Linked DNA regions of Homo sapiens: all the other regions are linked to region 5. The links are contacts of gene promoters, found by promoter capture Hi-C in blood cells and fetal thymus (Javierre and others, 2016). All regions are on one chromosome and are shown on one strand. The core of a region is centred on a gene start or on the middle of the fragment in contact, and the rest is flanking DNA. Distances in the headings are between cores, read along the strand shown.

Region 1 (3,627 bases), core at 861-3,360, 460 kb before region 5:
AAGTACTTCCAAAGCCCAAGTGTAGTTTCCACCAACAGGGATGCAGAACTGGTGACAGGAGCTGCTACTTTGAAAATAATGAGCAGAATAATCTTATTTCAAAGTCAGAACAAATGCAGGAAAGAAGAAAGAAAATAATCATAAAGGCATTTTAAGTGAGAAGGTCTATACAAATATTCAAAAGAAGGTACAGTGAAAAGGACAAGGTAGGGGAGTGGGGAGGATGGTGAGAAGTCATCTGTGGGGCGTGCGGAGGTGGTGTCTGGGACCATGGATGTCCCATTTACACAGGAAAGCCTACTCTGTTGTCATGTTTTAAGATGGGCATTGTTTTTATATCACCTTACTTGTTTGATTTCTTATGTTCTAGAAAAACCAGCACTACCACCGTGCTAAAAAGTGTAGTTCATATGAACATGTGGAGGCTAGGCAATTATGAACTTGGTCAAATATGTTTATTCTTTTTATGCAAGGCTGAAAGCAGAATCTTTCTGACTAGTTATCTCTAATTAAATGTATGGTTTCTCTTGCTATCTTTTTTCATTCACATGTTAAGCCACTATTTAACGAGTGCCAATCAACTACATACGTACTAGGGATGTTAAGTGTGACCCAGGAAAATGTAGTCATGTAGGCAACCTCATGCAAATAAAAAGGGGAAGTAGAGAGAAAGGGGGCATCTAACTAATCTGGATAGTCACAGAAGGCTTCCTAACTAATATGTAGGCTGTCTGGGACCTAAAGGATGATTAAAGTTAACTAGGAAAGTATGGAAGGCAAGGAGCAAGTGCAATGGCCAGGGAGTGAGAGAGCACGGTGGATTCCAGGGAGTGGAAGGGATAACACCAAGTTGGGGAGGGGGTGGGGAAATGGACATTCTCACAGACAGTTGTTAAGAGCATAAATTTATACAAATTCATGAATTTCTTCAGAGAAATCTGGGGACATGTTCAAAGCCTTACAAAGGTGTACCTTTTGAACCAGAAATTTCATTTCTGGGAATTTACCTTAGGGAAATAATCAAGCATATATGCAGTGATTTAGCAACAAGGAAAATAAACATGCCAAAGCTTATTAAAGCAAAACGTTTAAAACAACCGAAATGCCCAATCTATAGACAGCTAGTTAAATAAACTACAATGTAACCATATTTCAGGCTCTACAATCATTACAAACTGCATTGAAGATTAATATTTATTGACATGAAAAATCGTTTACTACTTATCTCTAATTGAAATATTACTTTTAGAGAAAAATGCAAGATATAGTACAGATCTATTTCAAAAATAAATGAGCAGAAGACAGCTGCTTATTTTTGGATTGGAAAATTATCAACTTTTTTAGCTTCTTTTTTGCTTATCTTTTTAATATTTCCTCAATGAAACTGTAATGCTTTTTAAATAAGAAATATTAGTTACTTATCAACTTTTTTTGAAGATTTAATTGTCCTATCAGTGAACTGAGATGAAGTAAGCCTTACATTCAGTTCTTGACCAGCACATTATGAGGACAAAAAAGGAAGATGAAATCCAGGAAAGAGATCCAAATAGCACATCCCCACACCAATGCCCATAAACCTCTTCCTCTCAACACAGGAACAGGTGTTGACATGAACAGAGAAGCCTTTACCCACATCGTACCTGGACAAGTCCAAATGGGAAGAAACGCTCCGTCTGCCCCTGGGAACCACGGTGGAAGGTTTCACGCCAGTCTTCGATGAGTGCAGGGAATGTGCAATTGTACAGATCCGTGTTATAATTTATATTGGACTCCCCTAAAAACAGTCCAAATTGTAAAGGGAGTTTGGAGTAGACTGCAAAAATGACCACACATTACTCTCCTCCCTCCATCCATGCCCTGAGGTAGTGGTCTTCCCACGGTCTCTCTGGACTGGTCTTTTTCCAGCCAGTGGGGCATCAGCAAATGTGGTACGAACAGAGGCTTGAAAAGTACTTCAGGTTTGGGCTCTGTCCTCTCCTGATGACCCTGGAATCCTGAGACTATTATATAAATAATAAATGAGTCTATACTGGCTTGCTGAAGGATAAGAGGTCACCTCAGAACCATGTTGCAACAGCCCCCAGACAATACATCTAGGGAGAGACCATCCTAGGTCATCCAGCCACCAGACAATCTGCCAGGTGGCCAAAGACACATAAGAGGTCCCAGCAGGAATTAGCTGAAGCAGCCCAGACATAAAAACTACCCTGCTCACCCACAGAACAGTGAGCTGAATAAAATTATAAAGTTATTGTTGCTTTAAGCCACTACGTTCTAGGGTGCTGTGTTATACAGCAAACGCTATCTGATACAATGGAGAAAGAGTACACTGAACACTTACCCTGGTACCATACTACCCCTTTCAGAGTCATATTGCACAGTGGATGGATCATGGCATTCCAGAGAACAGAGTGCTTACTGGGACCAGTTACAGAATCGTATGGAATGGACCTGAAATCATATGATGCACAAGTGTCACCAGAGAGCCAGTGATTGATCACATAAGGGTCCCTAATTGGTCATCTATCCACTTTCACTTGTGGTAAACTTCTGATGAAAGCAACACAGAATTAAAATTGAATCGAAACTCTTTTTCTTGAAAACATATGAATATTCTCTGAATTTCACCTCCAGGTTATTCCCAAAATAAGTGTATCGGTCAGCTTTCTATGGTAATTAAAGGTAATTTCTAAGGTAATTAAAGCCACAGGGAAGGAGTGCTTTATTGTTGAGTTTCTCACATTGTGGGGGGGGGCCAATAAATTTACCTAACTTTTATTAAATAAACCTTTATTTAATGCACAGACATTTAGGTTGTTTTAAACTTTTTGCTTTTATATGGAATGCCAAGATCATCTTCCTTATAGCTAAGTCATTGCATACATGCTTAACTATATCCATAAGATAAATTCCCAGAAATGAAACTGCTGTGTCAAAGGGCATCTTTTTTAAGGCTCTGAACACGTTCTCAAATTTCTCTGTAGAATATTTATATGAATTTATCCTGTAGCTGCTGCGTGTGAGAAGCCCACTTGCCCACACCCTCGGGATTATCCCTTCCACCCCCAGAGATCTGGTCTAACGCTCACTCCTACTCTACTGCAGGCCATTCTTCCTGTTCCAAAGTTGAATATCTTCACTCCCCCACAGGCAAGCTTTTACCCAAACTATACCCAGAGCTCAAGCCCATCCTCCTCCCACAGGGCTTCCCAGCGTGAATGAGACATGGTCCATGAAAGCAAGTCACATACTGCTCATCTCTACATTGATGTTAGTATCGGGATTTGTATTCACTAGCCCTTTCCCTCCCCAAGTATTCTTCCTGATCCAGCCTTTCCTAAGCAGGTGTTCATAATCAGTATACTGATACATTTCTTTGAGTACATGTTTATAACATTTGTTCTTCCTGTTGGATTGTTTATTCTTCTAGGCAATACAGCACAATGGTTAGGTGCACAGACACTGAAGCCAGACTTGCCACTTACTAGTCATGCTCATGAGCAAGTTACTAAGTCTCTCTGAAATGTAGTGTCTTCACCCATGGTCTTTAATATCTACACTTCAATATATTAATATATAATAATATATATTCAATATATTCATAATTTATATATATAAAGTGCTTAG
Region 2 (3,306 bases), core at 214-2,713, 400 kb after region 5:
CTTCCTCCCCTCACTCTCCCACAGCTTGTTGCCACCACCCTCCAGGAGTCTTTAAGCTTCTAATTCTTTTTTTTTTTTTTTTTTTTTTTGAGACAGGGTCTCACTCTGTTGTCTAGGTTGGGGTGCAGTGGGTGCAATTACAGCTCACTGTACTCACTGCAGCCTTGATCTCCCTGGTTCAAGTGATCCTCCTACCTCAGCCACCTGAGTAGCTGGAACTACAGGGGCATGCCACCACACCCAGCTAAGTTTTGCATTTTTGGTAGAGATAGGGTTTTGCCACATTGGCCAGGCTGATCTGGAACTACTGGGCTCAAGCCATCCTCCCACCTCAGCTTCCCAAAGTGCTAGGATTACAGGTGTGAGCCACTGTGCCAAGCTAATTTTTTCTGTAGCTCACAATGCTATTTAAGCTTCAACCATCTGGCCCTCCTTTGTGTCTCATATTTTGTGGAACTCCTATACATATGCATGTAATAAATTTGTATGCCTTTTCTCCTGTTAATCTGTCTACTGTCAAGTTTATTCCAGAGATTATCGAGCCTTTAAAGGGTGGAAGGAGAGTTCCTTTCACTCCTACAAACCCAAATGTCCATCAAGGGATAAATGGATAAACAAATTGTGGTATATCCATGCAATGAAATGTCATTCAGCCATAAAAAGAACAAAATACTGATACAATGCTACAACACAGATAAGCTTGAAAGCATTATGTTGAGTGAAAGACAGCAGACACAGAAAGGCACATGGTACGTAATTTCATGTACATGAAATGTCTACATAGTGTCAATTGAAGAAAATGATGAGACAAGTCTCAATCATTTTAGATTTATTTGCCAAAGTTAAGGACGCATCCTGGAGACAGGTCTATGCCTTTCTCTGAAGATGATTTTGAGGCTCCAAATTTAAGGGGGAAAGGGTGGGATATTGAGAAGCACACAGTTTTCACATAAGCAAAAGGGGCAAAGGAAAAATGTGGGGAATCTGCATTTTACATAAGATAACACAGACAAAATGGAGTAGGGGAAAAATCAGATATTCATTTGTGTCTGGCAGGCCTGCACCTGTAAAGATGACCTAACAATTTGCATTGCCATAGTGACGTTTTAACAGCTCACTGGGAATTTCCCCATATTTTGCCCACAAGGAAATTCCTGGTGAGCTGCTAAAACATCACTGTGGCATGCAAATTGATAGGTTATCTTTACAGGTACAGGCCTGCCAGACACAAATGCATATCTGATTTTTGACTTTTCCCTTTGGCTAAATGACTCTGGGGTCCCAAAATGTAATTTCTTTTCACAATAGAAACATAAAGTAGATTGGTGGTTGCCAGGGGCTGTGGAGAGTGACTGCTAACGGATGTGTGGTTTCTTTAGTTTGGCAGGGTGTGTGTGTGGCGGGGGGTGGGATGATGAAAATGCACTAAAATTAAATTGTGGTAGATAGTAAAAGGAAGTAGTTATGTGATTGTTGCACAACTCTGTGACTATACTAAAAGCCACTGAATTGTGTAGTTTAAAAGGGTGGCTGGTTGGGCGTGGTGGCTCACGCCTGTAATCTCAGCACTTTGGGAGGCCGAGGCAGGCGGATCACCTGAGGTCGGGAGTTCAAGACCAGCCTGACCAACACGGAGAAACTCTGTCTCTACTAAAAATACAAAATTAGCCAAATGGGGTGGCACATGCCTGTAATCCCAGCTATTTGGGAGGATGAGACAGGAGAATCACTTGAACCTGGGAGGCGGAGGTTGCAGTGAGCCAAGATTGCGCCATTGCACTCCAGCCTGGGCAACAAGAGCAAAACTCCATCTCAAAAAAAAAAAAAAAAAAAGTGTGGCTGGATGCTGTGGCTCATGCTTATAATCCCAGCACTTTGGAATGCCAAAGCAGGAAGATTGCTTAAATCCTGGAGTTCAAGACCAGACTGGCCAACATAGCAAGACCCCATCTCTACAAACAAGTTTTTTTTTAATTAGCTGGGTAGGGTGGCACACACCTGTGGCCCCAGCTACTTGGGAGACTAAGAAGGCAGGAGGATCACTTGACCCTAAGGGGTAGAGGCTGCAGTGAGTTGTGATCACACCACTGCACTCTAGCCTGCACAGCAGAACAAGACCCTGTCTCTAAATAATAAATGAAAAGGTAAATTTTATGGTATGTGATTATATCTCAGTAAAAGTGTGATTTTTTAAAAAGTCAATGAATCTTAAACAAATAAGCAAACAAAAGCTTAGTCAGGTCTCAGGTGATGCTACACTACTACCCAAACAGATTCATTTCTAAAAAGCAAGCAGCGTAACAAGAGCAGCCATTTATGTGCTTACTATGTAAGGAGCTTTACCTAACAATACTGTTTGTTAAACTTTTCATCTCATTTTATTTGCACAATGACCTTATAAAGTATGTATGATTACCCTTTGTTTAGGAAAATGAGAAAACAGGCTCTCAGGGATGGGATAATTTGTTCAAGGCTCACACAGCTAAGAAGGGGTAAGGCAGGAGTTCTAACCCAGAGAGCCATCTGACTCCAAAGTTCAGGATAGCCACGTTCCCACTATGTTCATCAAAAAAAACAAGAATGAGCCAGGCGCTGTGGCTCACGCCTGTAATCCCAGCACTTTGGGAGGCCGAGGCGAGCAGATTATCTGAGGTCAGGAGTTCGAGACCAGCCTGGCCACCATGGTGAAACCCTGTCTCTACTAAAAATACAAAAATTAGCTGGGTGTGGCAGCGGGCGCCTGTAATCCCAGCTACTCGGAGGCTGAGGCAGGAGAATCACTTGAACCTGGGAGGCAGAGGATGCAGTGAGCCGAGACTGCACCACTGCACTCCAGCCTGGGTGACAGAGCGAGACTCCAGTGCAAAAAAAAAAAAATGCTGAGAAGGATTTTAGCTGAGTCTAAAACAAGTACTGGCAGGGCTCTGCTAACCACGCTGCTGCTCACTCCTTCTTCTGCAATAGTTATTTTTCCCTAATGGGTTTTTGTCTGTGTTGGAAGGAAGTCTTTTCTTCCACCAACTATGTTGTAGTGTGTGTTTGGGGCTTGGGGGACTGCAAATTAATTGATGATAGACAGATCCACAGAAGAAAAGACAAGGATTATTTACACATGCATGGGGGAGTACTCAGTAAAGGGTAATCCCTGGCAAAAATAGCCAGGGGTACGTGTGACTGCATCAGTTTAACAAAAGGGAATGGTGGTTAAGGCTTCATTGGGAATGTATGGAAGATTCTATTGGGCTTTTTTATTCTGATGCTAATGTACAGTCTTCTTTCTGGCTGGAAGCTGAATTAGACCAAATC
Region 3 (3,272 bases), core at 383-2,882, 310 kb before region 5:
AGAGTGAATGCTTTCATGAATTCCAAGTCTAGATAGGTCTTTCAACTACTACAGTATGGCCAGCGATGAGACTGGTCACTCCTTTGAAGTCATCACACTTATAGTCTGCTTTAGGCAAATAACACTAAATCAAGTACCGCCTTGCATTCCATCCCTTGTGTTGTCTTGACCAGCTTTTTAACTCATTGATGTATGTACACAAGCTTCAATTGGATTTTATGCTCTTGGACTACAGGAGTGTATATTATACTTTTATTTTTATTTTTATTTTTAAAACTACAGTTCTTTTATTCATCCTAACACCTAGCAGACAGCCCTCCACATAGTAAGCACTTAAGTATTTGGTGACTGGAGATATGAAAAGGCCTACAGTAAAAGAGAAAAATCATGCAATCACTAGATAAAAAACTACCTAGATTTGTGTATCTGACTCCAAAATTGGGCTGGAATTGTTAGTAGACAAATTTTCTTCTGGCAAACAAACAAAAATGCAACAAAACTTCAAGATAAACAATCTATGTAGTAAGGCAGTGTCAAACACATCCGTTTTACCCAAACGACAGAACAAATACCAATAAGATGACAGACATCAAAATCAAACTTTGCAGCAATAAACAAATTTTCATATCTGACTGTAAATTAAAATCTTGTGTGCTTAGAAACATGTTCATTTAGACAGTATTAAAAAGTAGGATGTTAGTCTCAAAATCCAAGAGTTAAATTATTAATTCAATTTCAATACTTATAATTTTAGTATTTTTACTGTATAGATAAGAGGACCAAGGCACAGTCCAAAGAAGGTAAGTGACATGCTTTAAGGTGATTCAGGAAGGTGGTCAGAAAAGGGTGCAATAAGGCTCAGCTTTCTGATCCTTTATACAATGTGAGGAAGGCTGCTAATCAGAAATTATCTGACTAAAGGAAGGTTTGCATGGAAAAATTAAAGTTGCTATATAGCTCTTCCTTTTAAAGTTAGAAGAAATTATTTACTGGGTTTTCATAGTTGAATTCTTTTTTTTTAAGAGACCAGGTCTCACTATGTTGCCCAAGCTGGAGTACAGTGGCTATTTACAGGTGCTATGATCATGGCACACTGCAGCCTCAAATTCATGAGCTCAAGCGATCCTCCCACCTCACCCTCTAAAGTAGCTGGGACAACAGGGAAGCGCTACTGTACCCGGCTCATAATTGAATTTTTGACAGGAATTTCAAATATATTAGCCCAGAAATGTAATTGACTCACACATATTCCTTCTCTGTGAGCCTCTGACATTGAGTTCACATGTACTTTAGTCTGCGTAAGAAGTTCCTCCTTTTCCTTTTCCACATCTTACTACTTTGCTTCTATTTTGTAAAATCTAAAGCAAAAAGTATTACTAAGTTTCTTTTTGTAGTTCTCATCAACACAAAGTGAAAGAGATTTTTGAACTACTTGTTTTAAATCTGCATTTCTGAAACTGGGATCTAATGACTTCTTTTCAGAGGTTTGAGATTCTCTGAGATTTTAAGATAGCAGTTTTATTTTCATAAGCATAATCTGAGTTACTTGAACATCCACTTCATAATTGTGTAGGAATATGATTTCAGTGACCACATTTGCTTCTGTGCTGAAGATTACATTCACACTAAATCTCCTTAAATGCAGTATTCTTCAGACTGGGTTCCAAAGTCTGTTTTTTCGTTAAACAGCAGTATTATTGAATAATACTGCTGCAGATTTTTATATTTTCCAATATTCTCTTTCTAGACTTTATTTGGTGAATTAATTAAATAAGGCCGGATGTGGTGGCTCTCGCCTATAATCCCAGCACTTTGGGAGGCCAAGGCAGGCGGATCGCTTGATTCTAGGAGTTTGAGACCAGTCTAGGCAACACAGTGAGACCCTGCTTCTAAAAAAACAAAAATACAAAATTTAAAAATTAGCTGGGCGTGGTAGTAAATGCCTGTAGTCCTAGCTACTCAGGAAGCTGAGGTGGGAGCATCACTTAGGTCCAGGAGTTCAAGGCTGCAGTGAGCTATGATCACGTTACTGCACTCCAGCTTAGGCAACAGAGCAAAACCCTGCCTCCATTAAAAATAAACATAAAACAAATTAAAAAAAATGTAGTGTCTACTATATGCTAGTACAGCAGTGAGTAAGAGAGACCAGAACCTGTCCTTAGAGAGCTTATCATTCTGGCAGGAACACTCAACATTACTAATGAAAAAGTCTGGGTTCTTTGATTGAAATCACATAAAGAGTAGAGCACTTTAAAACACAAAACAGTTATCTGCCCTCCTTGTTAACAGCTACTATGGATCAGAGAACCCATACTCATCAGCACATTCCCAAAATACCCTAAGAGCTTGAGGTCAACTTGGTTTTACCTGTCTGGACACAGGTAAACCAATCCTCTTCTAAAAATTATTCAAATAAATCTCCTTTTCTTGCTTTAAGTTATCCTTCTCATAACTGGACAATGAAACAACCCAATTAGATACTCCCTGGTTGAGAAACAATTTTATGGAGAGATTTATATTCAGTGAGGTTTTGACAACACACTTTTTCTGCGTGATTGGGAAGTTTCTACAGACAGAAATCAATCAAGCTGAAACAGTTTAAAATGCCTAAAATGCACTTCTAAACTCAAGAAGAGGTCATGGATAGACGCTAGCCAAGACAGTACAAAAAGTCTCCCAAAAATTTAACCTTGGCTGGGCACGGTGGCTCACGCCTGTAATCCTAGTGCTTTGGGAGACTGAGGCAGGACAGCTTGAGACCAGGGAGCTAAAACCAGCCTGAGCAACGTAGAAGACCCTGTCTCTTAAAAAAAAAAAAAAAAAAAAAAAAAATTTAATGAGCCAGGTGTGGTGGGGCATGCCTGCAGTCCTAGCTACTGGGGAGGATTGTTTGAGCCCAGGAGTTCTTCAGGTTGGGCAAGAGAGGGAGATCCTCTCTCTAAATATAAATAAATAAAAATTAAAATTTAACCTTAATGACGTTGAATAGAACAAATGAGATTCAGAGAAGAGTAGCTTTGTCCTATTAGCTACTACTTTAATGTCTTTGTTAAAAAAAGAGAAAGCTTAAGAAGTCCCAAAGATAAATGTTATCAAATACACTAATTTAAATTTGTAATGGAGTAATTAATGGGTGGCAAATTCCTTGAACAATAGTAGGTTTTAAATATCTTAGTTTGTGGACCCAGTTTTCTAAGCAACAACATCCCCAAAGAAATACTACTGGAGCCAAGACCTGGAGAACTTTGGTGCAATTTCCCTCCTTTAGCTTA
Region 4 (3,370 bases), core at 117-2,616, 490 kb after region 5:
GTGACCTATGAAAGTGGAAAATGTAGATGCCATTGTCAGGGGAAAGTAAACTTCTCTTGTTTCCTTTATGTGGGGAAAGATGGATAAAGACTTTATTCAGGGATTATTTTATATTTTCTGTGACCTCTCTACTGGATAATACTGTCTTCATTATAATACTATATCTGCTGTTCTTTCATGGCACATTACCAATAAAATATTAACTCTCTGGTTTTTGCAGCCTTCTCCACTCGTCTGTTTGCTGTCCTGAGATTTGAAAGTGTTATCCATGAGTTTGATCCGTGAGTACCTTTGCTTGATCTGGTATTATTTCCTTTGGGAGGCATTCAGGTTCATGGGTTTCAGATTCAAATTTCAGTCAGCTCTCAGTGATAGAGATGTGCTTTCAGTACATTTAAGGGAAAAAAAAACCCTTAAATTCTTCCAAAGGAGATAATTATCTCCTTTTAAGACGTATGTGTTGGAGTCCAGCACAGTGGCTCACACCTGTAATCCCAGCACTTTGGGAGGCTGAGGTGGAGGGATCACTTGAGCTCAGGAGTTCAAGACCAGCCTGGGCAACATGGTGAAACCCCATCTCTACAAAAAAAAAAAAAAAAGTATGTGTTGGAATTGACCAAGTAAGTCTCTGAAACTCAAAAAATGTGAGAGGCATTGCTAGTATGTCTGCCTATCACTTAAGATCTGGCTAGGCTAAGAGAATTCTGGCTGCCCAGTTTGGTAAAAGTTTGTGATGCAGATTGAAGGAAAGGGTCCTGGTGTGTATTCCAGGCTCAGAAGAGAATCACAAACAATGGACTTGAGATTCATGACATTTTGCTGTTTGTTTGTTTGTTTAGCAATTTATGTGATAGAAATTGGGCTTCTTAGTTAAATTCTAGGGCAATGAAAAAACTCAAAGTTATCAGTTTGATAAGGAATTTTGTTCATTAGATGAAAAAGATATAGTGGAATTCCTTAGTGGTATTAATAACTAGTATTTACTAAGCATTCATTTTGTTCCAAGCACTAATTTACAGATTATCTCTAAATCCTTTCAGCAACCCTTTGAGATGTAGGTACTATTATTCCCTTCTTAGAAATGAGGAGACTCCACTGGGCACGGTGGCTCACGCCTGTAATCCCAGCACTGGGGGAGGCCAAGGCGGGCAGATCACAAGGTCAGGAGTTCGAGACCAGCCTGGCCAACATAGTAAAACCCCATCTCTACTAAAAATACAAAAATTAGCTGGGCATGGTGGCATGTGCCCGTAATCCCAGCTACTCTAGAGACTGAGGCAGGAGAATCGCTTGAACGCAGGAGGTGGAGGTTGCAGTGAGCCAAGATCATGCCACTGCACTCCTGCCTGGGCTACAGAGCAAGGCTCCATCTCAAAAAAAAAAGAAAAAGAAAAAAGAAATGAGGAGACTCAGGCTGGGAGTGGTTATCTAAGGTTGATTATTCAGTACGTGGAGGAACCGTGATTTGAATGTTGGTTTGTCTGACTCCAGAGACTGTAGTCACTGTGTTATATTGCCTAAAGTTAAGGCTTATAACAAATTTGGAGGGCCAAAATCATAGGTTCTTGAAATATTATTGGTATCTTAAAAATAGTATATTCAATCTTGTGGAGTATTGATTGAAAATGCCTGCATCTATTTGCAAATTTATAATTTTGTTTTGTGTAGATATTTGAAAGCATTTTGGAGGCATTACAAATAATTCTGTTTGGGGCCTCCCAAATTCAGTTTATATTTTTTCTCATGAATGAGGAGACATGTCCTTTTGTTTTTTCTTTTTTTGTTTGAGATTGGGTCTGACTGTCACCCAAGCTGAAGTGCAGTGGAGTGATCACGGCTTACTGCAGCCTTGACTTGTGGGGCCTAAGTGATCCCCCCACCTCAGTTTCCCAAGTAGCTGGGACCACAGGCATGTGCCACCATACCTAGCTAATTTTTTAAAAATTTTTTGTAGAGATGGAGTCTCACTATGTTGCCCAGGCTGGTCTCAAACTCCTGGGCTCAAGCAATCCTCCCTCCTCAGCCTCCCAAAGTACTGGCATTACAGGTATGGGCTTCCATGCCCAGCCTACTTTTGTTTCTTGATCCCAATCTGTTAGGCTTCTTTCTCAGACCCTCTGAATGAGCAAATATTGATGTTAGATAATCAAGGAATGCAAGAGCATCTGCTTTGTCGTCAAGAGCTGTTAGGGACCATAAGGGACTTGACACTTCCTTTTGCAGAGGAGGAAACTGATTCCCAGAGTGGTGAATGCAGTCCAGACCTATTCCTACTAACTTATACTTCCTCTCTCACTCTGCCTCTCCTACTGGTAGCTAAAGGACACAATTCTGACACATACTGATGTCTGCAACCCTCATCTCTTCTGTTTCTGACAGTCACCAAAATAACATCAGTGACAAACAGAAGGATAGAGATTTCTGCCATCTGTTGCTTCTGTTTACTTCAGCTTTCAAAACTTGACTGACCAAGGAGGAAATAGGGTTAGAGAGGTGGGCAGAGAGGACGGTTAGTCATGATTATCCATAGTAATTAAACTGTCTCTAGTTTGAGACTCTTTGTTTATTTTTGTCTGTCTTCCTTTTTTTTGGAAACAGGGTCTTGCTGTGTCACCCAGGCTGAAGTTCAGTGGCTCAGTTATGGCTCATGCAGCCTCAACTTCCTGGGCTCAAGTGATCCTCCCACCTCAGCCTCCCGAGTAGCTGGGATTACAGGCACGCGCCACCATGCCTGGCTAATTTTTGTGTTTTTTGTAGATTGGGTCTTGTTATGTTACACAGGCTGGTCTCAAACTTCTGTGCTCAAGCGATCCATCCACCTCTGCCTCCCAAAGTGCTGGGATAACAGGCATGAACTACTACACCGGCCTCTTCTTTATTTTTATTTATTATTATTATTATTATTTTTTGAGATGGAGTTTCGCTCTTGTTGCCCAGGCTGGAGTGCAATGGCACAATCTCAGCTCACCACAACCTCTGCCTCCCGGGTTCAAGCGATTCTCCTGCCTCAGCCTCCTAAGTAGCTGGGATTACAGGCACGCGCCACCACGCCTGGCTAATTTTTGTATTTTTTGTAGATTGGGTCTTGTCATGTTACACAGGCTGGTCTCAAACTTCTGTGCTCAAGCGATCCATCCACCTCTGCCTCCCAAAGTGCTGGGATAACAGGCATTAACTACTACGCCGGCCTCTTATTTATTTTTATTTGTTATTATTATTAATTTTTTTTGAGATGGAGTTTTGCTCTTGTTGCCCAGGCTGGAGTGCAATGGCACAATCTCAGCTCACCACAACCTCTGCCTCCCGGGTTCAAGCGATTCTCCTGCCTCAGCCTCCTAAGTAGCTAGGATTACAGGCATGCGCCACCACG
Region 5 (3,621 bases), core at 1,031-3,530:
CATGACAATTTCAAAAGACTATTTGCCTCTGCAGAGGGAGGAAGGAAAGGGAATGGGGTTAGGAGTGGAAATAAAAGGGATCTGAACTAAATCTGTGATGTTTTATTTCTTTAAAATAAAAAACTTGAGCTGGTGTGCCAAAATGTTAATATTTATTAATCTGATTGGTGGAACATAGATATTATACTACCCAATGTACTATTTTCTGTTTTTAAATTTTTCGTGATAATTTTTAATTTTTAAAAAGGTAATGGGCAGCAGGATGCATATGAATTGGGTGACCAGTTAGGAAACTATTGCAATTCTCCAGATAAGAGATGATGAGGGTCTGACCTCCAGTCTTAGCTGTGTCAAGGGAGAAGGTGTTAGAAATGACACAAGTTTCTAGCTTAGTTGACTGAGCTGATGGTACTGCTCTTAAGAAAACAACTATTTAAATTTAATTTGTGCTATTCTGGATATTACACAAATAACCCAGAAGACTTGGACCAACTCTAACAGTTAGAATAGAGGGCAAATGGTAGTTGAAGCTGGCTGGCGCCATTAGAAATGTTGCCCTTCAATCCCCCTTAGTAGCTTAAGAGTTCGTGAGACATTGGATTTATATATGGTATGGCTTTAAAGTAATAAGATAAATATTCCCAAGCTCTTTTAAGAATGGAGCTCATAATTTTATAAGCAAACTATACATTTTCTTACTAAGCATAGAAAAGAAGGGCTGGGTATAGTATAGAGTGCTGCTATAGAGGAAGAGAGAACATCTAGTCATTTTTATCTTATTTAAATGTGAGAATAATATCTGTGATAATTTCCCATATTAGAATAGCTAAATTATTGTTATTGAGTACAATACAATAAAATATAAAAACGGGTTCATGCCATCATTAAACCTTCTTTGAGAAGTGATGGCTTGGCCAACCCGATTTCAAGGGTAAGTCCATTTACTTAATATCTGTGGCATTTAAAGCAGGTAGACTGGAGTGAAAAAAAATAATTTAAATTTGAACAGTTCAGCAGCTGACAACAAAAGCAACTACAGGGCTAATGTTTTCCTTCTGTGCTCAATGCTGTGAGGTTTTTCTCTGAGAGAGTTTGTTCAAAACCTTTTAGATGTGTGTGTTCATTTAATGGTTGTTTCTACATACCCTTTCATCCAGCTGTCAGAGAAAATAGGAATAAATGGACTGATCCCTGCACAGGTAACCTAATGGATTAAAAATACGGTACTCATCACCAGGTTGATCATCATGAGCGAGAATACTAACTGCCATTATAAGATGACTTATAAGATGACTTACTATCTAAGACAAATGTGGATTCCTCAGAGGGTAATGTGGCCTAAGTGCTGCTGCTGGAGGGAGATATCTCACCCATCCCCCGATTTTCACACTGACTCAAGCCCTTGAAAGCAACAGAAAACAGTGGGTTACAAGGAGTGAAGTGCTCCTCTGGAAGAGTCCTTTTCACTTTGCTTTATAGCTGTTTTCCAAACCTTCAAAAATAACGGGGGGGGGGGGTTACTTTCACACTTTTATGTTTCTACTTTAAACACTTCACTATCTTTTGAATTTTAAAATATTAGAATAACGCCTCTACCTTTGTAATTAGATAAAATGCAAGCCTGGGGAAAAAATCAGTTGCCAAGCTCCCAAAATGCCACCGATGTAGCATCTGCTCTTAACACGTTGATAGAAAAAGGAGGATCAGTAAACCTAGGTCTCTTCCTTGCATCCCTCTCCTGGACGGTGTTGTGGGTTGGAAGCGCTGCAGAGCCTCGGTCTATCCGCTCTCTGGATCTCACAGCACTGCAGCCTGGGAACACCCCACTTGAACTCTAAGCTTCTCCCCAACCCTGTTGCAGATTCAAACTGGCGACAGGAAAACAATGCCCCCCATGTCTCGTCTTCAGAATGTGCACCTGGCCACCTCCCAGGAGCTAGAGAGGGATTAAGGTCTCGGTCATAAGAGATCTGAATCAGGCACTGACACTTCCTTTTCTTAAGAGCATGAAACAAAACAGTCCTTCCTTCTCTGCCTCCAATTAAGTATTTATTAGCCGGGCCTTGGGTCCAGATCAGCGGTAAGGGTGGTCTGCGAGGTCCGTGCACCGCCGTCCGCCCACGCCTTCTTCCAACCACCTCAGCCCGACCCTCCACTTTTCTCCCTTCCCCGCAGCCGCCCCGCTTTCCTCACCTCTGCCCCCTTCACCTGGATCCACTCTCCCCCAGGCTCTACTCACACCTCAGATTCCGGCGCGTTCCAGCCCACGGGGCTCTGGTTTACTTAGGGCGAATCACAAGTGGGCTTTCATTTAGGTGATTTAAGATTCACTAATCAGCGTTGCTCTTTCAACGGCCAACTTCTTCCTCATTAGCTTACGCCTAGCGCGGCTCCCGGCAACGCCGAGCGCGGTGGGTTGGCTCGTCACCCTTCGTTACGCCCTCCGATTGGTCGGTGCCTGTCAGCCTTTGGACCGACCTCAGTTCGGTTGGGTAGCAGCGGTCCGAGCTGCACTCCCCGCCCCCCCGCCACTCCACTGTCAATCACACCATCTCTCCGTAACTCATTGGGCCATTGGTCAGTCTAGCCTGAGGGCGGGTTGTTGGGCGGAAGAGAGAGACTTCTTCCGGCCTCACTCGCTGTCACCATAGAGATTGCCCATCCAGGCAGCGAAGCAGCAGGGCCAGGCAGCTCAGATCTCGAACTCCAGAGAACTGCACAGTCATCTAGACATCAATGCCTTTTCCGGGGCCTGATGAACATCTCAATCCCCAACCCACTAGCTCGAGTGGGGCGCAAGATGTGGTGGACAAGTCAGCTCAGGCCCGGTCATTAAGTGTCCCCAACAACCCTCCTGGAGGGAACTGAGGACGAAGCACCAGTTGTAATAACGGCACGCTTCATTTATCTTTATCTCGACTTGTTTTATTTGGTATTTAATTCTTCCATTAGCCTTGCGAAACAGACAAAGGCAAAGATCATTCTACCCACGGGACAGACTGGGGAAGAGGCCCAGGGTCCATCAAGTAAACCCTCTGCCGCCAGGCTGCTGGAACTGGAGCTGGCCCACGCTATTGGCAGACTGCTGTTACCTAACTGCCAACTAAAGCTTGCCATGACTTTGCTTTGAGGCTATGGCCTGTTAGACCAAAAGATGCATCAATCAGGACAACCAAAGGAAGTAGGACAGAGGCTGCGTGCTCCACCACTGAATCAAGAAGGGGAAACAAACAATAATCAATACCAAATTGGAGAGCTGCACCGTTTGAACCTTTGACCTTAAACAAAATTTTAAGAAATATCATGAAGCAACCTATTCAATCTTAGAGCACTGAATCTCTGATTTAAGGAATTCTCCTGAATCACAGCTTTATGAACCAAAAAGAAGAAGATGCTTGAATTTCATCAACTGCACGTCTCAAATTTATTCAACTTTCGAGGCTTCATTTACAATCACATAAAGTAACCAATGATTTGTTGTGCGTTTAGCAACTTAACATTACTTGGCCCAGTGAGAAGCTCTGTGGCTAAGAAATCCTTTATTTTGATGAATTCATTTCACTGGAACTGAGTGTTGACTGCAGCTATGTTCTGTTAGGAACTGCGAAGATATACAAGAAA
Region 6 (3,562 bases), core at 154-2,653, 370 kb before region 5:
TCAGGCATTTCTCTCCCACTCATTTTTCCTTTGGCAAGCAGAGCCTCGGGCCCAAACATCTAGGTGGAAAGGAAGCATGTCACCGCCACGTGGTCCCTGGTCATGGCCAGGGACTGGGGATGCACAGCAGAGCTGTCTCAGGATCTGCTGTCCCAACCAGAGCCACAGGGCATTTCCCACCTTTGCTCCCAGCAGGAGCCATCCTTTCCTCCTTCCCTTCTCTGGGACCTTAGCTGAGAAGACTTTCTAGTTTTCTCAGAGAAGGCCTACCCTACCCACATAACAAGCCACACTGCCAGCTTTTGTACCCTGCCGAGTTGGGGGAGGCTGACGACCACAACAGTGGCAGTCTGTCCCTCCCAGATGCTCTTTCCATAGCTCCCCTTCCCAGCCTCTCACGAAGCCCACATCCTGCCTCATCATGGACCCAAGAGCCAATTACTTCGAATTCTCTACACTTGGGTTTAGGGTATTTTTCTTCTTCTCAGGAGCAAGGGCGAGGATGGCCAGCTTTTGTCTTATTCTGAGGCAGCAGATCAAAAGGTTAGGCAGAGTCTGGTATGAAAGGGAGGAGGATACTTCTTCCAAGTCTGTGCCCATATATAAATACATACAAAATAGGTGTTGTGCATATATGATGTTGTTTGTTGCAGCTCATGTAGACAGATCGATAATAGATACGTCATGCCGACAGCTTGAGTTGGGTGACTGTCCGTGTGCGTGCGTGAGCGCGCGGGCGCCCGCAACAGGGTGTCCGCATTTACCTGCAACTGAAGGGCTGCGTAGTTATTTTTGCAGGTTGTATCTGCAGTGTCTGTATGCTGGAAGAAGGCCTGGGAAAATCATATGTGGACATGTGGGGCTTGTGAGCTTTTGTGTGGACGCATGCCCATCGCCAGGTTGTACCAACAGGTTTCTCCGTCTGTAGCAGGAGTGATGATGAGACCTTTTTACCGCCCGTTAGGGAGCCTTTCTTTGCGGACTGAGGGGGAGTGAAGTGAAAGGGAGCCATATTTGGGACTCCTGCTAGGTTGTGGAAGTATGGAGGGATGGGTGAGGGGTGCGTGGTTTTCTCTGAGCGGGAGTAGGTGCTGTGCCCAGATGTGGGTGTTTGTGCTCGGGGTGTCGGGGGCCTCCTTCTGCCTACTCCGGCGTACATCTGCCTGGCAGTCTGCCGCCTAGCAAGCCAGGGGATTGCGCCCGGGAGGATGGAGTGTGTAGGAGGCTTGGATACAAGCGTGTAGGCGGAGGGGCTGGGGCAGGAGCGGGAGCGCGGCGCAGAGAGCCGCGAGAGGGCGTGGCCCTCCCTCCACTTCTCCCCGCCCACCCTGCCGGAGGCTGCTCCTGATTGGCTTCCCGGCCGCGGGGCTCAGGTTACATTCGCGAGCGGAGCCGAGCGCGGGAGACCGGACCCGAGAGCAGAGCTGCTGTTTCGGCGCGGGTCGGCTGGCGGCCGACTGCCCCAGAGCCCCCACCCGGCACCACACAGACCCCACCCCCGCCCTGCGCCAGCCTTCGTCCCCGCAGAGGACCCCCCGACACCAGCATGGACTGCTGCACCGTAAGTTAGAGGGCCCGGGGGAGGGGCACTTGGCGGGGTCCGCTGCGAGAGGCGCCTGAGAAAGCCCTGGAGGGCGAGAGAGGGATGGAAGTGGATGCGGAAGACCTAGGAGCAGAAAGAAAAGGGGTCCTTGCCGAGACGTGGGTGGTGGATGGTGGAAGGCGCCCGCCCGACTTGGAAGCCCTAGGAAAAATGCTCCTCAACTCGCGGGGGCGTCTGAGCGCCCATCCGTTAGACAGCCTAGGCTGGACTGGGAGCTCGGCAGGGCTCTGCAAGAGGGGAACTGCGGGTTGGATGACAGGAGGAACTTCCTCCCCAGTGAGACGCTGGCAACCATCGCCTGGAGACACTGCAGCGACTCCTTCCTCCCGTCTTTCGGCCCCCACCCCGTTCCCCATCCCACTGCGCCGCCGTCGGTGGGCGGACAGGCTGATCCTCATGACCCTCCAACGATCGCCTAAGCGCCCTGTGCAGCGCAGGCTGGTCCATATTGGTTAGCTCGGTAGTGATGCTGGCTGCAAAGAGCCTAGTCAGGGTGGTTCTGGGGAGGGGTTGTCCCGGCCCCCAAGGCCTTCTCGCTCGGAAGGGGCTGGGTGAAGTGACCGCGAGAGAGCCCTGCTGGCGAGGAAAGGAAGTGTCTGCAATTTGTCAGCGCCCACGCGGAAACCTGGGTACTGCAAGTGCCCAGCGCCCGAGGGGTTTGCTGTAAAGGTGACTCGGTATGAAAGCGCCTGGCATAGGCCCTGGCTCCTGCCTCACTGGAAGAGTACAGTGATCATACGTATATGAAATTTATTTGTTTGCTTATTTATTTTTTGCCTCTGCACTTGGAGAAAGACTATTCCAAAGTCCTTGTATTTTCAGTCATTCAGTCAACCAGCTAATGATACACGAGGTTACTGACTTTGCCACCTTATGGCATAGTAAAGAAAAAAAAAGTGGGCTTTGGAAGGGAAGGATAGCCCAGTTCTATAATAGGTGAGACTTTCCCATGTCTGGGTACCAAGAGGCAGAGAACACTTAGGGGCAAGTGGTGGTGGTTGCGATTTTAACTCTTATTAGTTTAAGTAATAGTTGCCAGTTTGTGAATGCCTGCCCTGTAGCCAGCACTTTATATTTAATCATAGCAACAACCCTGTGAAGTAGGTATTATTTCACAGATGTGCCAACTGAGGTTTAGAAAGTTAGATTTTTCCAAGGAAGCATGACTCCTAACTGTGGAGGCAGGATTCAAACATAGCCCTGTCTTCTTCGAAGAGCTGTGGTTTAACCTCTCCTCTAAATATTTACTGATTATAAAAGTAATCTGCTCATAATAGAAAACGTAAAACCTAGAGAAAAGTATGAAAAACAAACATGTCAGTCACCTACAGTCCCACCCCCTGGAGAACACCCCGATAACATATCTCCTTCCAGCCTTTTCCCTCTGCTTGTTATTCTACAGGAAGCAATTTTTTGGTTGTGAAGGGAGAAATGGGCTCCTCATGGAGGTTCCTGGGCTCCACTGAGGAAGAGCCCTTCCTCCCAGCAGTGTTGTATAAAGTAGAGAAGATAAATGGATGGTGGGTTCTGGGAAATGAGCTGGGGGGAGGGGAGAGGTGAGGATGACAGGGGAGTATTGCTGGGGAAGGGGAAGTGGGAGACGTGGTCACTGGAAAGAGGTGAGTAAACAAAGAATCCAAGAGGCCAGGGAAGGAATGGAATTGGTCTCCTCTGTGTCTGCAGTAGTAATTAGAGTAGGATGTGGGGGTCCCTGCCTGGAACTGTTGCTCTTGAGTGCCCAGGGAGCCATACTGAGGGATTAGTAGACATGGTTGAAGTCAGTGTCCCTTAAAAAAGGAGAGGCTACCCACCCAAAAGGTAAAAGAGAAGCAGATACACAATTATCTCCATGGCCCAGGGCCTGGGGCACCTCCTCCAGTGCACCCTGTGCACAGGAGCCTTCCCAAGTCATGCCCTGTCCTAGGTCTGCAGGGCTAAAGGGCTGAGCAAGAGAGAGCA
Region 7 (3,457 bases), core at 142-2,641, 440 kb before region 5:
AATAGACTGGCAATGTTCTAGTTCTTAAGTTGGGTACTGCTCTCATGGGTGTTCATTTTATTGTGTCATTGTTACATATAATTTTGTACATCTCAAGCATTACATGGTAAACATGGGCACAGGGAGAATGACTTAAAGGAAAAACGTCAGGATACGCAACCAAGTAGAGTACTAATGAATGAAAAATGTGATCAATGTTAATGAAGGTGATGTAACAATAAGACCCAAAGGAGGAGATAAAATACTGACACTAAAATAAACAGCCTTTAACTGAAAACCTAATAAAATATCTTTTCCCCACCTCATAAGATGGATCTCAAAGGTCACTGAGTGGAGATAAGAGTCAGGAAATGGCATACAGAGTGCTAGCATTTTGCACTTTTGTTAGACTCTGAACAATCATTTATGGGCTGCAGTTTGTCTGAATCTAGGTACTTTTCCGGCTCTCAGGTAGAGCAGGAGTCATTTTTCTGCACGCTGTTCTCCTACCCCAACTATCATTTCTTAACAGGGATCTCTGGGGTCCACTCTTTGAGTGTTTTGAAACAGAAAGGAAGAAATCCAACATTATCACTTTAGTTTGCATTATCAGACAGATTGCACCTTCTGCTTTCTCCATACTGTGACCCAGTGTCCAGCCTAGGGTATTCGAATGGCAAGATCTGACCTGCGCAACAGCCAAAGGGAGCCACCAGCCTCCCCTATGCCACTCACATTTTCCCACCACCAATATCTGTAAGCGGTACCAGAAATCAAAACTGAGCCTTAAATAGTCAGAGCTAGTGAGGGGGTTGTATTTCTTAGCCCTGATAACCACTTAAACGAGTAAAATTTAATTCCCCTAAGGAACCCCGCCTGAAGCAAACCCTCCCCAAGGGCACCACTGAGGGGGTAGCGCTGAAATGTTTTGGAAGATTCAGTCACCTGTTTCCAAATATTACCTAACTAGCTTCGCCTCCTTCCCTCCGAGCTCCCCTGCAGTTACTCCAGGACCCCGAAGGCCTCTTTCTGGGCACATTTGGGCCTCCCCACTCAGACAAGCCGCACTTTCTCCCTGCTCACAGGCTGCATGTCAGGGATGGTAAGTGGGGGGTGGAGAAAGTGGAGAGGCCGGGGTTCAACCCAGCAGACTCCTGCAGACCGGGCCTCGGTCGGAGACGCGAGCCCCTAGCCTAGCTAGGTTCCTTCGTCGACCTTGAGAAAGGGGCGCGGATCCGTGTCCCGCAGAGGACACGGGGTCTCGGAGCCCGCACAGGCTGAGGGGCAGGGGTCCGGCCGAGCCGGGCCGCCTCACCTGCACTTCTGTCGGCCCACAGGATTAATGGCAGCACCAGCCCGAGTACAAGCCCCGGCGCGACCATGCTTGCAAGGATCTGACCGCCGCCTAGGACTGGGAAAGTGGGTTCCCGGCAGGGGCGGGGCCTGGGCGGGGGCGAGGCCGACTCCACCCTTTTGCAGTCCTCGCAGCCTCCCGCGACCTCAGGACTGGGCTGTACTCGCCCCTTCTCGGCCGCCGTAGTTTTTTTTTTTTTTTAAAGAAAAAACGGTTACCCAGCAACTAGAAAAACAACCGGAACCGGCGGCACCAGCTCGGAGAGAAAGGAGGTGAGGCCGCTTCCCCACTTCCTCTCCGATACCAAGACCTAGCCTTTTCCCTTCGTCTCTCTTATTCTCTCAGCATCCCAGACACAGCCTCGGAGCCCTGGGCCGTTTGGGAGCCGAGGCAGCCCATTCTGCGCGAGTCTGAAATCCCAGGTCCTCAACATCCCGCCCCCGACTAGACCCGTCTGCCCCCTCCGCCCGCCCTCCTCTGCCCACATTGGTTCAGAATCTCGCCAGCTCTTTTCACCACTCTAGAATGGTTCGATACCCCCATCTACTGCTCCCTCAGAAAAAGCAAAAGAGAGGAGTCAGGCGTGGTGGCGCGCGCCTGTAATCCCAATTGCTCGGGAGGCTGAGGCGGGATCATCGCTGGAGCCCAGGAGTTCGAGGCCAGAGACCCCCTCTCAAAGAAAAAAAAAGCGATGAAACGAGAACCCTCCATAGTCTGAGCCTCATTAAACCGTCCAGTTCTCCCAACCTGGACCCCTACCACGGCCTCCGCCTCTATTCCGCATTGACGCACACTCTCACATTAACAGGCCAGGTCCCGGAGGATTCTTTTCATACTCAGTAGTAGCTCAGCCCGCTGCTTAGCAGCTACCCTTAATCTAGCCCTTGTATTTCAAGACAGAAAGAGACAACCTGATCAAGAAGAAACCGAAAAATATAAGAATTCTAAAACTTTAGAGGCTGGGATTTCAAAATCATGACACACAGCCCCATCCCATCCCATCCCTCCCTCACACACACGCACGCACAACCCCATTCCACAGTACGAAGGTGTTCGAAGCATTGTGGGTCATGCTTCAGAAGTGGCAGCAAGGGGAAAGATTGTGCAACTTCTTCATTCAACAAATTAATTTCTAGAACCAGGACTAATTTCTACTCTTTAAAAAAAAATAGACCTCAAAGAAGGTCTTCTCAGCAATTGACAATGAATTTAACTTTTTAGCAATCATTCTCTCTAAATTCCTGTGTGATAGCAAAAATTACCCTTACCTTTTGAGCATATAAAGGGTAAAGAGAGAAAAAGTCATATTGAAAATTATGGGTTTTTTGCAGGATTTTAAATGATTTGGCCTAGTGAATGGGTCTGTGTTTGTATTATACTAATTCACAATGGAGATTTCAAAACTCTTTGGAAGAAATGGATGGGCTTGGGTTGTGTTAGGGAAAAAAGAATTCAAGTCCAGATGTATGAGTCTCAGAAATAATTTGTTGGCATAGTTGTGATTATATAAGTAAAATCAGACAAATTTAAAGACAGTACTCTTTAATGAATCTTTAGGTTCCATAGGCAGTTCTTACCAAGAAGATGTCGATTCCATTCTCCAACACCCACTACCGAATTCCACAAGGATTTGGGAATCTTCTTGAAGGGCTGACACGCGAGATTCTGAGAGAGCAACCGGACAATATACCAGCTTTTGCAGCAGCCTATTTTGAGAGCCTTCTAGAGAAAAGAGAGAGTAAGCTTTCTAAAATTAGTCATTTTTTAAAATAAGAAACTAAGCATTTGTTTATGGTAAAACTTGCTTAAGACCATCTCCATTCTGCAGAAAGCCTTTTATGAGGCAGGGAGTTTCAGATAACAGTTCTTGCTCTTTGAAACAGTATGTACCTCTTTGATATGTTCTCTTAAATTCGTTTCATATTATCGAAGATTACCAGTTCATTATTCAGACCGTCTTCATTGTATTTCTCACGGACATACAGCGTGGAAGGTAACTGCAAAAGAGCATACATTTCTCGGGAGAAATCAGTGGGGGAAAAAAAGATCATACAGTCTACCCTCGCCACGTTCCAGCATACTGTTCCTATGCATCCCTGGCAGCTGACTGTTATTCCTGAGATG

Evidence for each region. The method cuts DNA at HindIII sites, captures the fragments that hold promoters and counts their contacts. A CHiCAGO score of 5 or more calls a contact.
Region 1: a contact is called between a fragment that was not itself captured here and the fragment with the promoter of TMEM218 in region 5, in 1 of 17 cell types (total CD8 T cells). The highest score is 6.3, in total CD8 T cells.
Region 2: a fragment that was not itself captured here is called in contact with the fragment with the promoter of TMEM218 in region 5 in 1 of 17 cell types (monocytes); the score reaches 6.1 in monocytes.
Region 3: a fragment that was not itself captured here is called in contact with the fragment with the promoter of TMEM218 in region 5 in 3 of 17 cell types (naive CD4 T cells, fetal thymus and total CD8 T cells); the score reaches 6.2 in naive CD4 T cells.
Region 4: a fragment that was not itself captured here is called in contact with the fragment with the promoter of TMEM218 in region 5 in 1 of 17 cell types (neutrophils); the score reaches 5.4 in neutrophils.
Region 6: a contact is called between the fragment with the promoter of NRGN here and the fragment with the promoter of TMEM218 in region 5, in 1 of 17 cell types (total CD8 T cells). The highest score is 5.7, in total CD8 T cells.
Region 7: the fragment with the promoter of SIAE here is called in contact with the fragment with the promoter of TMEM218 in region 5 in 10 of 17 cell types (non-activated CD4 T cells, naive CD8 T cells, naive CD4 T cells and 7 more); the score reaches 9.9 in non-activated CD4 T cells.

What each region holds. Positions count from the first base shown.
Region 1 is chr11:124,645,725-124,649,351 of GRCh38, forward strand. It overlaps SIAE (sialic acid acetylesterase), which reads right to left. Exons shown (of 10, transcript NM_170601.5): 6 at 2,342-2,451; 7 at 1,641-1,774. Among named protein-coding and RNA genes, the nearest start is that of TBRG1, 25 kb to the left of the region's middle. The HindIII fragment of the contact is 2,085 bases long and covers 1,069-3,153 here.
Region 2 is chr11:125,513,312-125,516,617 of GRCh38, forward strand. No RefSeq gene overlaps it. Among named protein-coding and RNA genes, the nearest start is that of FEZ1, 19 kb to the left of the region's middle. The HindIII fragment of the contact is 1,532 bases long and covers 698-2,229 here.
Region 3 is chr11:124,795,429-124,798,700 of GRCh38, forward strand. All of the region lies in intron 1 of MSANTD2 (Myb/SANT DNA binding domain containing 2), which reads right to left. Among named protein-coding and RNA genes, the nearest start is that of MSANTD2, 3.3 kb to the right of the region's middle. The HindIII fragment of the contact is 2,862 bases long and covers 202-3,063 here.
Region 4 is chr11:125,596,839-125,600,208 of GRCh38, forward strand. It overlaps STT3A (STT3 oligosaccharyltransferase complex catalytic subunit A), which reads left to right. Exons shown (of 18, transcript NM_152713.5): 3 at 221-281. Among named protein-coding and RNA genes, the nearest start is that of STT3A, 5.7 kb to the left of the region's middle. The HindIII fragment of the contact is 4,469 bases long and covers 1-3,370 here.
Region 5 is chr11:125,109,346-125,112,966 of GRCh38, forward strand. It overlaps TMEM218 (transmembrane protein 218), which reads right to left and starts at 2,281. Exons shown (of 5, transcript NM_001258244.2): 1 at 2,194-2,281. RefSeq lists enhancers at 1,976-2,065, 2,421-3,333, 2,696-2,875 and a silencer at 2,536-2,605. The HindIII fragment of the contact is 1,270 bases long and covers 1,838-3,107 here.
Region 6 is chr11:124,738,539-124,742,100 of GRCh38, forward strand. NRGN (neurogranin) reads left to right here and starts at 1,404. Exons shown (of 4, transcript NM_006176.3): 1 at 1,404-1,561. The coding sequence starts at 1,547. RefSeq lists silencers at 1,103-1,162, 1,223-1,542. The HindIII fragment of the contact is 6,441 bases long and covers 1-3,562 here.
Region 7 is chr11:124,672,348-124,675,804 of GRCh38, forward strand. SIAE (sialic acid acetylesterase) reads right to left here and starts at 1,392. Exons shown (of 10, transcript NM_170601.5): 1 at 1,295-1,392. The coding sequence starts at 1,361. SPA17 (sperm autoantigenic protein 17) reads left to right here and starts at 1,557. Exons shown (of 5, transcript NM_017425.4): 1 at 1,557-1,605; 2 at 2,891-3,071. The coding sequence starts at 2,918. It overlaps LOC124902780 (a long non-coding RNA gene), which reads left to right and starts at 3,078. Exons shown (of 2, transcript XR_007062933.1): 1 at 3,078-3,215; 2 at 3,319-3,457. RefSeq lists silencers at 1,328-1,447, 1,420-1,578 and an enhancer at 1,488-1,667. The HindIII fragment of the contact is 8,074 bases long and covers 1-3,074 here.